2 separate regions of the Homo sapiens genome follow, and region 2 is linked to region 1. Evidence: promoter capture Hi-C in 16 types of primary human blood cells and fetal thymus (Javierre and others, 2016). All regions are on one chromosome and are shown on one strand. Each heading gives the region's core, a stretch centred on a gene start or on the middle of the fragment in contact. The rest is flanking DNA. Distances are from core to core; before and after follow the strand shown.

What was found. The method cuts DNA at HindIII sites, captures the fragments that hold promoters and counts their contacts. A CHiCAGO score of 5 or more calls a contact.
Region 2: a contact is called between a fragment that was not itself captured here and the fragment with the promoter of C1orf87 in region 1, in 4 of 17 cell types (M2 macrophages, M1 macrophages, M0 macrophages and 1 more). The highest score is 8.6, in M2 macrophages.

What each region holds. Positions count from the first base shown.
Region 1 is chr1:60,069,344-60,076,433 of GRCh38, reverse strand. C1orf87 (chromosome 1 open reading frame 87) reads left to right here and starts at 2,664. Exons shown (of 12, transcript NM_152377.3): 1 at 2,664-2,744; 2 at 3,764-3,897. The coding sequence starts at 3,791. The HindIII fragment of the contact is 5,384 bases long and covers 1-4,347 here.
Region 2 is chr1:60,761,245-60,768,513 of GRCh38, reverse strand. All of the region lies in intron 1 of LOC101926964 (a long non-coding RNA gene), which reads left to right. Among named protein-coding and RNA genes, the nearest start is that of LINC01748, 140 kb to the right of the region's middle. The HindIII fragment of the contact is 955 bases long and covers 2,255-3,209 here.

The sequences.
Region 1 (7,090 bases), core at 1,415-3,914:
GAGAGAAATTTTAATACTTAATTTTGGTTCTATTCTCCTTCATTCATTTGGTCAAAAAATTTTGTAGAGCACACTATAATCTAGACACTGTTCTGGATATTTAACAAACACAGAGAAGAAAAAGAAAAGAAGAGTCCTTCAATAGCATGACGTTAAATTTTCCCATGGATAATATAATAAATTACCACACACAAATGTATTGTCTTACATTTTTGAAGGTTAGAAATCCAAAATCAGTCTCACTGGGCTAAAGCCAAGGGGTCAGCAGAATAGATTCCTTCTGGGGGTCTTGAGTAGAATCAGTTTCCTTGCCTTTTCTAGCTTCCAGAGGCCGTCTGCATTCATTGGCTCATGATCCCTTCCCCAAATCCCTGTACCCTCTTGCCTCCATTGTCACATTTACTTCCTCTTCTGTCATCAAATCTCTCTCACCTCCCTCCTATAAAGACACTCGTGATTACATTTAGGGCTCATCTGAAAAATTTAGATAATCTTCTCCTCTCAAGTTCCTTCACCTAATCACATCCGTAAAGTTCTTTTTGCCATGGAAGGTAATATTCACAAGTTCTGGGGATTAAAAGGTGGACATCTTGAGGGAGGGGCATTATTCAGCCCTCTACAGCATAGCACGAGAAGCCCGGACAAACAAAGCAAATAAATACCACACTCTCAGACAAAGACACACATATTTCCTAAGAGAGAAACCACAAGTTATAGATAAGATGAAGAAGCCACTTTCAGCTCTGGAATCCAGTTTGGCTTCTTCCAAAATAAGAGCAAACATTTATATTGTTCGTTATGTGTCAGGCATTCTTCTAAGTTCCTTTCTTATATAACTCGCTTAAACTTCACAAAAAGTCATCCTCATTGTATAGAAGAGGAAACTAAAGCACAAAGATGTTAAGTGATTTGCCCAAGATTACACTGAACTAGCAGGGCAAGGATTTGAACTCAAAGTGTCTGATTCCCAAGTTCACATATCATTTGAGATCCAACTTAAAGAATGGATAGGCAGGCTGACACAGTGAGAAATGGAAGGGCATTATAGGCAGAGGAAACAAAGTGAACAAAGGCACTGAGGCAGAGATATGAAAGGGAGATTCAAGCCAGTGAGTAGACTGGGTTGGATGCAGCATAACAAGCCTAGGAGAAGTAGTGGGAGATCAAGCTAGAGATCTAGCTTGAAGTCAGATAGTGGAAGGTCTTGAAACCACAGACACCTGCTGTGGCTGATGAGATCTTTCAGACATTTGAGTAGAGGAGGGGGCTTGTCAGAGTTGGGCCTTGGGAAGACTGATCTGGAAGCAACGTGAAGGCTAGGAGGGAGGAGTGAGAAGGGAGCTGTCCCCGCTTCTCTGCTCCCTTAACACTTTCTATATCATAGAATGTGGCTGTGTGTCTCACCCTCTAGAGAGTGAGCCCCTGGAGGGGAGCTGAGTGTGCTGTCCACCTCTGGCTGCATGTGCCAGTGGGTGATATATTCACCTGTAAAGCACAGTACAGCTAGAGGTTAGGAGACAGGGGAACAGATGCTGGAGCTGCTGCTGCCTATGTTGATGCAAATAACAATACCGTTTGGGAATCAATCTAAAGTGTCTTTGCCTGCATCAGCTGAAGTTTCTTTTAGCATAATAACAACTGTCTGGAAATGTAGGATATGCAGATCTATATTCTAATCTTAGCTCTGTACTTGCTTTTGCAGGATTTGGAGTAGTTTATCAATACCCCAACTTGTTTCTTTTCTCTTTAAAATAAAGTAAAACTATTTTGTTTATAACTATTAACTTGTGAGGTGAGAGTTATCCAGCTTGTCATAGGGATCTGGCATAGAGACAGTACTCAACGTTATTATTATCAATCTATAATATTCTGGTTTTTTTGTTTCTTTGTTTGTTTGATATGGAGTCTCGCTCTGTTGCCCAGGCTGGAGTGCAGTAGTACCATCCTGGCTCACTGCAAGGTCCACCTCCCAAGTTCAAGCAATTCTCCTGCCTCAGCCTCCTGAGTAGCTGGGATTACAGGCGCGCACCACCACGACCGGCTAATTTTTTGTATTTTTAGTAGAGACGGGGTTTCACCATGTTAGCCAGGATGGTCTCAATCTCCTGACCTCGTGATCTGCCCACCTCGGCCTAACAAAGTGCTGGGATTACAGGGGTGAACCACTGAGCCCGGCCGATATTCTTATTTAATTTAGTCACCAAATCGCAGTTAGGACAGTGTTATTATTTTGCCCCGTTTCACAGATGAGGAAACAATCTCAGGGAAAAGAAGGGATTTACTCAAGCCATACAGTGGAGACGTCTGGATTTGAACCTACTGTGTTGGAATCTCAACTATGTGCAAACTCACAAAGGGAAATGAAGCCTTCGGAGGAAGGGCGGGACAAGGGTGACCACACAGGTGAGCGAGATGGGCTTCTAGAAGGACGCCCGCATATCTCTGAGGAACAGAGAAGGCACAGATCAAAAACACCTAGGCTCTTCACCCGTTGGCAGCCAGAGCCTGGGTCCATTGCCTAGGCAGTGGAGAAAAACCTGGTCCCCGCCCAGAAACAGCCTTCAGCGTCCTTAGCGACCAGGGCGGAACAGGCGCCGCCCGCGATGCGGGCCCTGTGATTGGCCGGATTCCTGGGCTCGGTCCCCACGCCCCGTCCCGTCCCCGGGTCTGAGAGTGTCAGCTTCCTGGGGAGAAGCACGGACCGCGCACCTCTGAGCTGCCAGGGTGGGGACGCTGCCCTAGCGGTAAGCCCCCCGACTCTGTTCTCTCCGGGCAATCAGGGCCGACACGCAGCTGCTGGGCAGGGAGGGGATTTGAGGATCACGAGTTCCGGGTCTGGAAGATTCCAGACAGGTGCAAAGAGGCTGCAGGTCCCCGGGATGAGGGGCTGCCCTAGCACAGGTCTTTAGTATTGGACTTTTGGGAAGAACCCTGGCCTAGACATCAGACCCAAGTACTGGAAACAGTCCCGTCCTTCATTCCTCTGTGACCCTTGTCAAATAACACACCCTCTCTGGGCCTTAGTTTTCCAATCTGTGAAGGAGCCTTTGGAGTAGAATGATTTCTAAAGGCCTTTCAGCCTCTGGGTGGTTCTAAAAGGGAGTGTTCAGCTGTGGCCAGATTTACTGAACTTCTGATTTTCCCTTGGCATCACTCTGTTTAAACACCTTGTGCAGGAGTTCAATTTCAGATTCATTGTATTGTTGTAGAAAGAGATCAGTGATAACAACAAAAGTCTGTCTGTCTTGTGTACAGTCTCCCTTCAGATGCATTATCTCCTTGGATTCACCCTCAAGTCCCTGAGAACAGACCTAGAATTACCCTGATCTCATAAATGGGGAAACTAAACATCAGAACTGAATATGGATTCTTCATATGTCCCACTAATGCCCTTGTTTCTGCTCTGACCTCACTGGAATTCCATCCTATGTCTTGTAGTACAGGAAGGTAGAGTCACCTAATGATTCAGTAGATCTGCTGTACAGACCTCTTAGGTGAGATTCCCAAGTCGGCTAATTACTGGTGATGTGATGTGATGTGAGTAAGTCATATAGCTACATTTTGCTTGTTTCCTCAACAGTAAAACAAAAATGATAATAGTAGTTAAAAATATCTTTCTCATGCCTTTGTTAGGAGTGTTAAGTGAGGTAATATAGGTGAAACACTTTGTCCTGCTATTATTATTGCTTGTTGTTATTGGCAAGGATGATGCAGTTCCCTAATGGAAAATCAAGAGGAACAATTTACTTATTTTCACCCCTAGGGATCTGAAGGGATTTTGAAAGGAATCATGTCTTCAGCCTGGAAGACTCCCCGTGGATCAGATGCAATGCCTGAGATCATGGTGAAAATCATTGGAAGTAAACACTTTCAATACCTCGTGGAGAAGCCAAAGATGTAAGTCCATATTTGAAAAATATCTATGTTGCTTGGATGATAATGAAGTTTTATTGTTTTGTTTTCACCCAGAAATTTAAACTTAAAAAATGCCATCCATGGAAAACGAAGTCATTAAGATGCAACAGTAGAGGTAAAATCGTGTTGATAACTTCCATGTGCACTGTTTTCCTGATATTTTTCATCTTTATAATTCCCCATACTCCTTAATTACTTGGGCTGATTTTCCAAATAGATGGGAAATATGAGCATTGCGACATTTATAAATATTAATGGAGCACTGCTGCCTTTTCTCATCGGGCTTGTAATCTACCACATGTACTAATTTTGGGGAGAGTGGGGGAGGTTTAATAGTCAATTTGTTGTGAATTACAGGAGTAGGATTAATACAGAATCATAAATTGTAAGGTTTTCACTTACTCCTGTTTGTATTTGATACTCCTCTAAGCTTGGGCTTCTCAGATCATGGCTAAGATCTCTTTCTTCTATTCCAAACCCATCAGAGTCACATTTAAGAGATGACACTCCTGTATTTCTAATATTCACCAGATGTTTCAGCACAGAACAGTATGACTAGCTCTTTCTTACAGAGTTTCAGTGGCTCAAAAAAGGAGGGAAGGTACTAGATCTGTCTTTCATATAGTAGGCGTTCCATAAGTAATAGCTAGTCAAAAATTACTTTTCCTTCCTAAGATTATTTCCTTAGCTCTATCTTCTATTTCAGAAACTCATAGACTGAACAAATATACAAAGATATGGTATTGTTGAACATAGGTGCAAGAAGAAATTTTTGCTAAACCTAGCTGTCATCAGAATCACTGGGAGAGACCTCAAAAATACAGATTCAGGAACCAGCTCAAGGTCTGCTGAATCAAAATCTCTGAATGTAGGTCACCAAGACTGCTGTTATGAAGTACAGGCTTTAATAAGGCTTTAGAAAGGCACATTAGTTCTACTTCCCTACTATCAGTATTGTAAGGTCTAGAGGGATTCCAAAGTGACTGCTATAATCAGTTAGTAATGTCTGCCACTGCACAGGAACTGAGGTTTGCAGCACGTGATTCATACATTTGGGATCCCTACAGTGCTGAGAGGTGTGAAATTGAATCTTAGGTCTGATTCTTTCTTGCCTTTTTGACATTGGGAAAATGAATTAACATCTTTGGCCTTAGATTCTACATATATGAAGTGGGGATAAAACAACACCTATCTAGTAATAGGGTTATTGTGAGGATTAAATGAGAAAAAGTATGCAAAGCACCTTTCCAGTGTCTATTATAAATAACATGCTTAGTAAATAATCCTGCTATTATTATAGAAGTCTTTCTATAGATATAAAAAATGTAACAAAAAATCGAACCTCTTTCTCTGAAATGTTTGATGTCCCTTTTATATTCTATGCCTAGGACACAGTTTATGTCTGTTTTGTAGATGAGGAAACTAAGACACTGTGATATGGTAAGCGATTATTTTGAGATATGTCAAATCCCTGTCACTGTCAAGAAAAGTAAATAGAATTAGTTTGGACACCTGGCTCAGATCTCCTACCTGGAAAACTATATTATTACTATTCCATTCCTTATTTAGGTTATTTGTTTAGCCTTATTCTCTCCCAAACTCCTTGCTTTTTCCAAGGGTAGGGAGCTTAATATGTTTTTAAACAGAAAGCAAGGAGTAGTATTTAATTTTTAAAATAGTGAAAAGTTAGCTTTATCTTATAGGAAGGTGCCTTTCCCCATTTTGTTTTCTAACCTTCAGGAACCAAGAAATAAAAGAGTACATTAAATCAGCTAAATTAATTGTAAAATAAAATATGCAGTTCTATCTCTCCTATTATAGTACAACAATTGGTATTTTTTTAGGTAGTAAGATGGATATTTTGCTTGTTTGTTGTGTTTCCTATAGACTTCATGTTACTGTTGCTGGGATGACATAGGATAATTGATGTGCATTGCTAAAATATTCTTCTATGTTTAAAAATAAATAATTCTTAAATGCTTCTTGTTGCTCAGGTAAGGAAAGTGCCGCCACTATCATGTCATTCATGCTGCAGAATCTGTCTTCCCAAAAGTGTTTATACTCATAAACCAGGGCCTCAAAATGCTGTTTCCTTTGGATTGAATAAGTTGAATCCATTAATAAAAATCCACTTAAGAAGCATAAGTAAACATCAAAAAATAAAGGCTTCTCCAAAATGAAAATTTGAATTAAAAGAAAATCATGGATCAATAATGGATAGAAAAAGAGAAATCTTCTGTATAACCACATTTAGCTCAGATTTCCTGCAAGACATGTGTTGATGATGGGATGGTATGACAGACTTGAAGGTAGCCTTTTAGATGCAGCCCACTATATTAGCTTGCTAGGGCTGCTGTAATAGTGTACCACAAACTGGGTGGCTTAGAACAACAGAAGTTCATGGTCTCAAGTTCTAGAGGCCAGAGGTCTGAAGTCAAATTGTCCATAGAGCTGTGATCCCTATGAAGGTGCCAGGGAAAGACCTATGTGTTCTAGGCCTCCCCTTGTTCTCGCAGTTCCTTGGCTTGTGGCAGCATATCTCCAAGCTTCACATGGCTTTCTCCCTGCATCTGCATCTGTGTCCAAATTGCCCCTTTTTATAAAGACATCAGTCAATTACATTAGGGGCCCACCCTAATCCAATATGACCTAATCTCAGCTCATTACATCTGTAATAACCCTATTTCCAAATAAGGTCATATACTGAGGTATGGGGGTTAGAATATCACCACAGGAATCTTGGCAGGGCCACAGTTCAACCCATAACAACCAGACTCCCATTTTACAGATGAGGTGAGATAACTAAGGCCTCAGTGGTCTTAAAGCAAGCCCCTGAAGTTCCAGGTTTGTTATTAAGATCTAAGACTGGAATGGAGCTCTCCTTCCCTCTTTCCTTAAGTTAACCTGTGTAACTGCTCACAGATCAAAGAAAAATACTTATATTTAGTATACATATATTTCACAAAAGAGCAAAAGAGACTAATGTGTAGGCTTCAAGGAGTGAAACAGGTTTCCCCTTATTTGTGCCATCATCATCTTCCTCCTAGGTCACTATAACCGCCTTCCAACATAGTTCCCTGTCTCTAATCTTCACACACTCTACTTGACTCTCTGCAGTTTTGCTCCTGAATGTGTAGTCCATGGATCTCCAGCATCAGTCTTAGCTGGGAACTTG
Region 2 (7,269 bases), core at 1,483-3,982, 690 kb before region 1:
AAGATTTTCAGAGATTCTCTAGAAGCAGGTGATCTTTGGAAGTAGTCTTCTGACCTGAGACCATGAGAACAATCTTATGACCTCAGATAATGGACAGCTTCCCCTCCAGACCAAGACCCCTGTATAATTCCTGTTTTGTTTTTCATCTGCTTGCTTATAAACACTTTTCTTCTCATGTTCTATAGATCCCTGATTGTTGTCCACCCATAATGGCTTCTTTTTTATTTTCATTCATCTTTATGATAACTATTAGGTTGGAACATTCTCATTCAAACTCATTCTTTGATTATTCCAAACCATAGCCCTGCCTTCAACTTTACCAACTTTTGGATATGCCATTAATCAATGGACCCCCATGATATCTTAGGGCAATTTCAGTCTCACCAAATGAAGCCATGAGGAACTACTGATTGCATTTCCATTTGCACCTACAAGGACAAATGTACTAAAATGAACCAACCTATAACTTTGCCAGTGTCCTTCTTTCCCCCAGAAAAGGAGTACATTGTTACAATCTATTGATTGGAACTTAGGTAATATAAATTTGAATTCAGCAACTTTCTTAAGGTAATTGGCCAAATTCTTGCCACTTGGAAGAGACTAGTAAAGATAAAAATGTGTGACACAGCTAAAATAAAGCATTGATTCTGACCTCATGCCATAAACAACTAAATTTTTTCCTAAGTGTCCATGTGCCACTATCATATACTTCTAGGACTTCCCGGTCATCTTTTCTTCTGCACTTTAGAAATAATATTCTAAGACCTGTCAGTATACAGAGATTCTAATTCTATAGATCACCAAGGCTGGAAATTCTAACTTAGTTGATAGCTCCATCGTAAGTCCTCCATTTGGGGGAATTACTTACTCATTGTTTATGGGAACAATGAAAGGAATGATCCCAGTGGTGAGACTCAAACAAGTAGAAAATATTGAAAGAAACTTAGAATTAACTCAGCAGAAGTTATTAATTAATGTACTCCTTCTGCCTTAGATAGAGTACAGATCAATGTCAACTTGTTGGCAGGAGTAATGATGGACAATGTCATTACTCTAAATTTCTTGTTGGCTAGTCAATGTGGTGTTTGTATCATTGTTAATAATTCTTATTTACTTAGATCTGTGAAGCAGGCATAGTCAAGTAGGCTACACTTCACCTTAAAGAAAAAGTGACTTGATGTTCTAAGATTCATCCTCTTGGGCTCTGGGATTCATTCTGTTTACCTGAGTTAGGCAATTGGGGTTCCTGGGTCTAGCTGTCTTAGTGGGACTATTACTTGTCTTTGTTTTGGTCAAAGTTGTTGTAAGCTTGTTCATTATATTCTATCCAGAGTCTTAAATGCTTTTGTGTAGCAGCTCTCTCATCAAATGATTGTCATGATGATACAGCAGTAAAAAGATCAAGAAGATCTTGTGATACGGTTGACTATGGAGACAAGCAGACAACCTTCCATCAGTGAAGATCTGCATTTCTGGTCTTCCTTGAATTGACCAACCTGTTGCAAGTGAGAGAATGACTGAAAGGGGGGACTGAGGGACGTTGTCTAGACAGTGACCAGATCATATATGGCAGTAGAACATTGACCAACAACCTTTCTGGCTATTGATCCTGGAAAGCAAATCATGACCTTCACATCAATTGACCCCAAACAGTCAGAACTTCGTCAATGACTGCCAGCTTTCCTATTTGTGGCTTTCACTTCTAATTCCGGACCAACCAGAGAAAACCAAATATGCTCCCTGTATTAGTCTGTTTTCATGCTGCTGATAAAGACATACCTAAGACTGGGTAATTTATATTAAAAAAAAAGAGGTTTAATGGACTCACAGTTCCACGTGGCTGGGGAGGCCTCACAATCATGGTGGAAGGAGAAAGGTGAAAGGCACATCTTACATGGCAGCAGGCAAGAAAGAACTTCTGTAGGGGAACTCCTCTTTATAAAACCATCAGATCTCGTGAGACTTATTCACTATCATGAGAACAGCACAGAAAAGACCTGCCCCCATGATTCAGTTACCTCCCACTGGGTCCCTCCCACAACACATGAGAATTATGAGAGCTACAATTCAAGATGAGATTTGGGTGGGGACACAGCCAAACCATATCACTCCCTAAAAAAAAAAATCACATAATATATCCCATTTTTATAGCCTGTCTCCAGCTTCCCCATGCCAACAACTTCTAATTAGAGCATACCTGAACACTCCCCCTTTTCTCTCTCTCTCTCTCTTTTTTTTTTTTAACTATAAAGCTTTCCTTGCTTCTTCTGCCTGACTTTGAGTCTCTGCCAAATGGAAGTGACGATGGCTGATTCCTTTGCTATAGTAAGCCTTGAATAAATAGCCTCTATTTTTCTCATTTTTGTGGTCTTTTTTTCTACAAGAAAAAAGTAAAATCCTCTTGAAATTGTATACAATGATTAAAAAGGCTTAAAACTCAGAAAGCCTCTACAACTATTCCACAGAAAAACTGAGTTATTGTTAATATTCAATGAATGATTTTGCTTCATGGTGATATGTTAACACTAAGGTCAGATTATTTCTTTTTAGCAGGGCTTTGTGAAAGAAGGGCCCTGGGGATCTGAAGGCAGAGATGTTTCTCTCTGAAATGTATCAAAACTAATAAAAGAAAATCTGGAAAGAGAGGGGTATATATATGATATACACTGCTCTGAACCCCACAGCTCTAGCTACAGACTGAATAATTTCTTGACATTTGTACAAAAAGCAAGCTGTACTGAGCTCATCCACAAGTGGTGTGCAATTCAGATTTGTTTCATCTGGTAATCTCCGAGATAAACTGTTGTGTTGAGTAAATAAGGGTTATGTCTTTGCCTGTGACACCAATGTCAAAATTTCACTTCTTATATCTTGTTTATTTATACGTTTTTAGGTAAAAAAAAATTTATTATAGTGATAAAAAGAAGACATTGTACAATAAAGGATGTCATTTTTCAAGAGTCATTATGACAAATTATTAACACTACAGTCACAGTGTGAGGTAAGTTTGCAACTCCTCTAAGGTTGCATAGCTAGTAAGTGGCAGAGCCTGGATTTGAACGATGTTTAGTCTGAGCTGTTAACCATGTCGCATAACATCGCCTCTACTGCCCAGTAGGGGGCATTCATTAGCTTGCCATTCACTTGCCAAGTACCCTTGTGACCTTAGGCAAATTATTAAATTGTCTTAATTTTATGTTTTGAAAGCTTTAAGTGTGTAGATTGGACTTGAGTAGCTTAGGTCAGGGGTCGGAAAACTTTTTCTATAAAAAACCCGGTAGTAAATATTTTAGGCTTTGCAGACTATGTGATCTCTGTAACAACTAAAGTGGTCATAGAAAATAGTAAACAAATGAGCACGTCTGTGTTCAATAAAACTTTGCTGACCAGGTGCAGTGGCTCATACCTGTAATCCCAGCACTTTAGGAAGCTGAGGCGGGCGGATCACAGGGTCAGGAGTTCGAGACCAGCCTAGCCGATATGGTGAAACCCTGTCTCTATTAAAATACAAAAATTAACTGGGTATGGTAGTGGGCGCCTGTAGTCCCAGCTACTCGGGAGGCTGAGGTAGGAGAATCACTTGAACCCGGGAGGCGGAGGTTGCAGCAGTGAGCTGAGATTGTGCCACTGCACTCCAGCCTGGGTGACAGAGCAAGACTCCATCTCAAAAACAAAACAAAACAAAACAAAACAAAAAACAAAAAAACTTTGCTTATACGAACAGATGGTGGGCGCATTTAGCTTGCTGGCTGTATTTGCCAACTCTTGGTTTACTTCTCTGTACGTAAGCCTCTCTCTTCTTTGATAAGCAGGGAACAATGGAAGGAAATTAACATTGAGCATGTACTATGAACTAAGCATTGTACTCAAGACTTTTATAGTTATTGCATTTAATCCTCACAATTTAATCTCTATGCTATAGCAAAGAAAGTGGAGTTTCAGGAAGCTGAAATAGATTGTCCACAATCACACAGCTGGTGGGAAGCACAACCTTCTGACTCCAAGTCTCTTTCTTCTCATCATAGCAGCTTCTCTTCTTTGCCGTCCGTATATATGCCTTTCCCAGCATCTCTGGCCATCCTTGCTTCTGACTTTATATTAAGAATGTTGAGAAAGAAATAACAATAACAGCAGTGAAACTTTATGGGTGGATATTATTCAGTCCTCACGAGAATATATATATATGGTTATATCTCCACGAGAATCTCATAAAGCATATTTTCCCCATTTCATAGAGAGGGAACATCAAAGTCACAAAATGGAAACTGGCAACTCTAGGAAAAGAACTCCCGTTTCCTAACTCCTGATTCCCTAACTAGGTCTTTATTTCTAGTCAACATTGTTTAATTAACACAGGAGAATATTTTCCTTTCTCTGAACCTCTCTAAGTACAGCTGCCAAGTCAATTCCAACCAACAGAAGTAGCTGAGACTGGATTAATGATTTTGGGGGGAATATCAGCTTCAATGCAACAAAATTCTGTTAAAGCAATATGGATTGGTGTCCAGGAAATATCAGAAACTCTTGTGCTTTGTCAACAACTTGGCTATTAGGCTGACAGCCACCTGGATTTCTCTTTAAGGAGTTCCCCACATGAAAAATGGCTCCTCAGAACATCTGACTCTTAGATTGACCAAAGTTCTGGTCAGGAAGAAACCTCTGTCTTTGCTGACAGTTTCCAAAATATAAATACAGAGGCTTGAGGATAGGAAATCTTTTCATTTTTTAAAGCTGTGTATTGAAAGAGAAAACCTGGGACTCTTCCCTGGTGACGCTACTGGAAACTTTTCAGTGCTTTTTTTTTTTTTTTTTTTTGCAGCCCCGTTGGAGCCAGTTTTCAGCTTGGATTTCAGGAGAGCTTCTAAGGAAGAATAAGCATGCCTATCTCCCAGTCTTCCCATTTGTGTCCTGGGCCTCTTATGGCTTTGGTCTGTAAGCAGCAGAGACTGGCTCAGGCTGATAAAGGAGAGAAGAAATTTATTAGATGGTATCGGGCAGCTCACAGAACGGTTGGAAAGCTGCAGAGCAGGTGTGAGGTGAGGGCTGGAGAGGAATGATCTGATGAGCAAAGTGCTCCCTGATCCCCCAGCATTGCTTGACTGTGTCAGGGTCTGACATTGCAACCTCAGACATTGAGGTGGGGAGAAAGGGAGGATAGGAGAGGAGAAGGGAGGAGACGGAAGGGGAGGGTAAGAGAGGGGAAGGGAGAAGAGAGCAGAGAGGCAACGCAAGGAGAGACATGTTTCCTTGTGTCCCTAAGATCTTGATTCAGTCCTGTGCCTTAGATGCAAATGAAACCAGGAAAGCAAGTATCTAGCATTGCTGCCTCTTTAAGGAGAAGCAATTTTATCCTACAACAAGACTCATACTGGGCAGCAACAAAAATGACTAATGTCCATGACAGTTTTCTGCCTCAAAGCCTCAGCCTTCACCAACCCTTGGTCTCCAAGGAACCCTCTAGCAACATCCTCTGTAGATACTGAGTGCTGAACCCTTCCTTCTTGTCTTCTAAACCTCAGAACCTTCTCTCTTACAAGGGCTTAATGCATCATCCACAGAATCCTGGCATCTCTGTTGCAGAAGCACCTGAATGTTCATCTAAGGCAATGTTTTGAGTAATGCTCCGGGGAGCCACAGGGCTTCCTCAGACACCCCACCAGAGTGAAGGCCCTTTCCTCCCTCTTCCCACCACACACAGCCTGCTGTGATTTGGAGCAGGTAAGTTTTGAACTGTTTTGCATATTGGGCTTTAGTTTTTTTGAAGACAGATTCAAAGTCTAAAAAAGTCTTATAGGTGTAGCCCAAGCCCCTCTGTCATGTCTTGATCATCTTTGTAACCCCGCATCTACCACAGGACCTGATGCAACAGAGGTGCTTCAAAAGTATTTATGAATGGAAACAAATAAATATTTTATTCGTTCATCCATTCATCTACTCACTAGAGAATCACTTGTTCAACTCCTATTAGGTCGCAAGGACCATTTACCCATCACTTTCACTGACTGCCAGTCTTGGGTTAGTCAGTGTATATGACTAGAAATGTCCCATTCCTCTCCCACTGCACTGTCTCTGTGCAACCCATGCTGAATCTCAGGCTGTGTCAGCCTGAGGGTTAAAAGTTAGGTCTTATTAATAGTAACAGGCATTATTATTATTCTTGGCTTTACTCCCAACCTGCTATTGCACAGTTTCTCTAGTTTGGTGACCTCATTTCTCTTTGAGGCATGCTCTACTGTAAACTTTGTCTCTTACTAACACACAAGATAGAAGTGGTGGGAAGAGCCTTTTCCTGCAAAGATTATGGAGTTTTAATAGAATATATATCTGAAAGTGCTTTGAGCAAAGGAAACTGCTCTTCAAGGGTCAGAAGTTGTTATTAAGTAGGGCTGCCTGGCAGAGAGCTGGATACTTGTAAAAAATTTAGGATGCTAAGGAGAAGATACTCACCAGAATAATTTATGCTGTTAATAAAAAAGCACTTTGCATTCAAGTCTCAGTCAAACCTTAGTCTTCCCCATGGGGAAACCATTAGCTTGTTGTTAGTAACTTTATTTGGTACTACTATCATTGTGCCAGCTATGGGAGCTAGACTATGGCCCTTTGCTTCATTCAGCTAACATTTAATGAGTACCTTTTAATGTTTCACTTGCCCATCCATCCATCCATCCATCCATCCATCCATCCATCCATCTATCCATCCATTCACTAACTCATTCAACAAATACTTACTCATTCAACAAATACTTACTCATTCAACAAATACTTACTAAGTCCCCATATGTGCTAAGGATTAGAAATACATGAAAAGTCAAGAATCCTTGCTCTTTTGGAGTTTCCATTATAGTGGTGGCAACACACAAATGGGAAGAGAGATACAGATATAGAAATATATGGAGTGTCAGACAGTGGTAAATGCAAAGAAGAAAAGTAAAAGTAAGGATGAGAGATAGGGAGTGTTTGAAGGTGGGACTATAATTTTAGCTAATATGGCCTATTAGCTAAAAGGTCATGTTAAAAAAAAAAACTCCACAAAGATGGTAGCAACTCTGTGAGCTAAGTGTTAGTTCTATTTGATAGGTGAAGTACTTTGACTCAGAGAGGCCAAGGAACTTGGTCGAGGTCACACAGAGAGTTTGTGGCTGAGTAGGTATTTGGACCCAGATATGTGTGATCTTGAAACCAGGCTCTTTCTACAGTGCTACCCTGGTCACATTTTTTTTTAATCTGCATAACTTTAGGTGGGGCAAAGTCAAGACACACAGAGTTTTT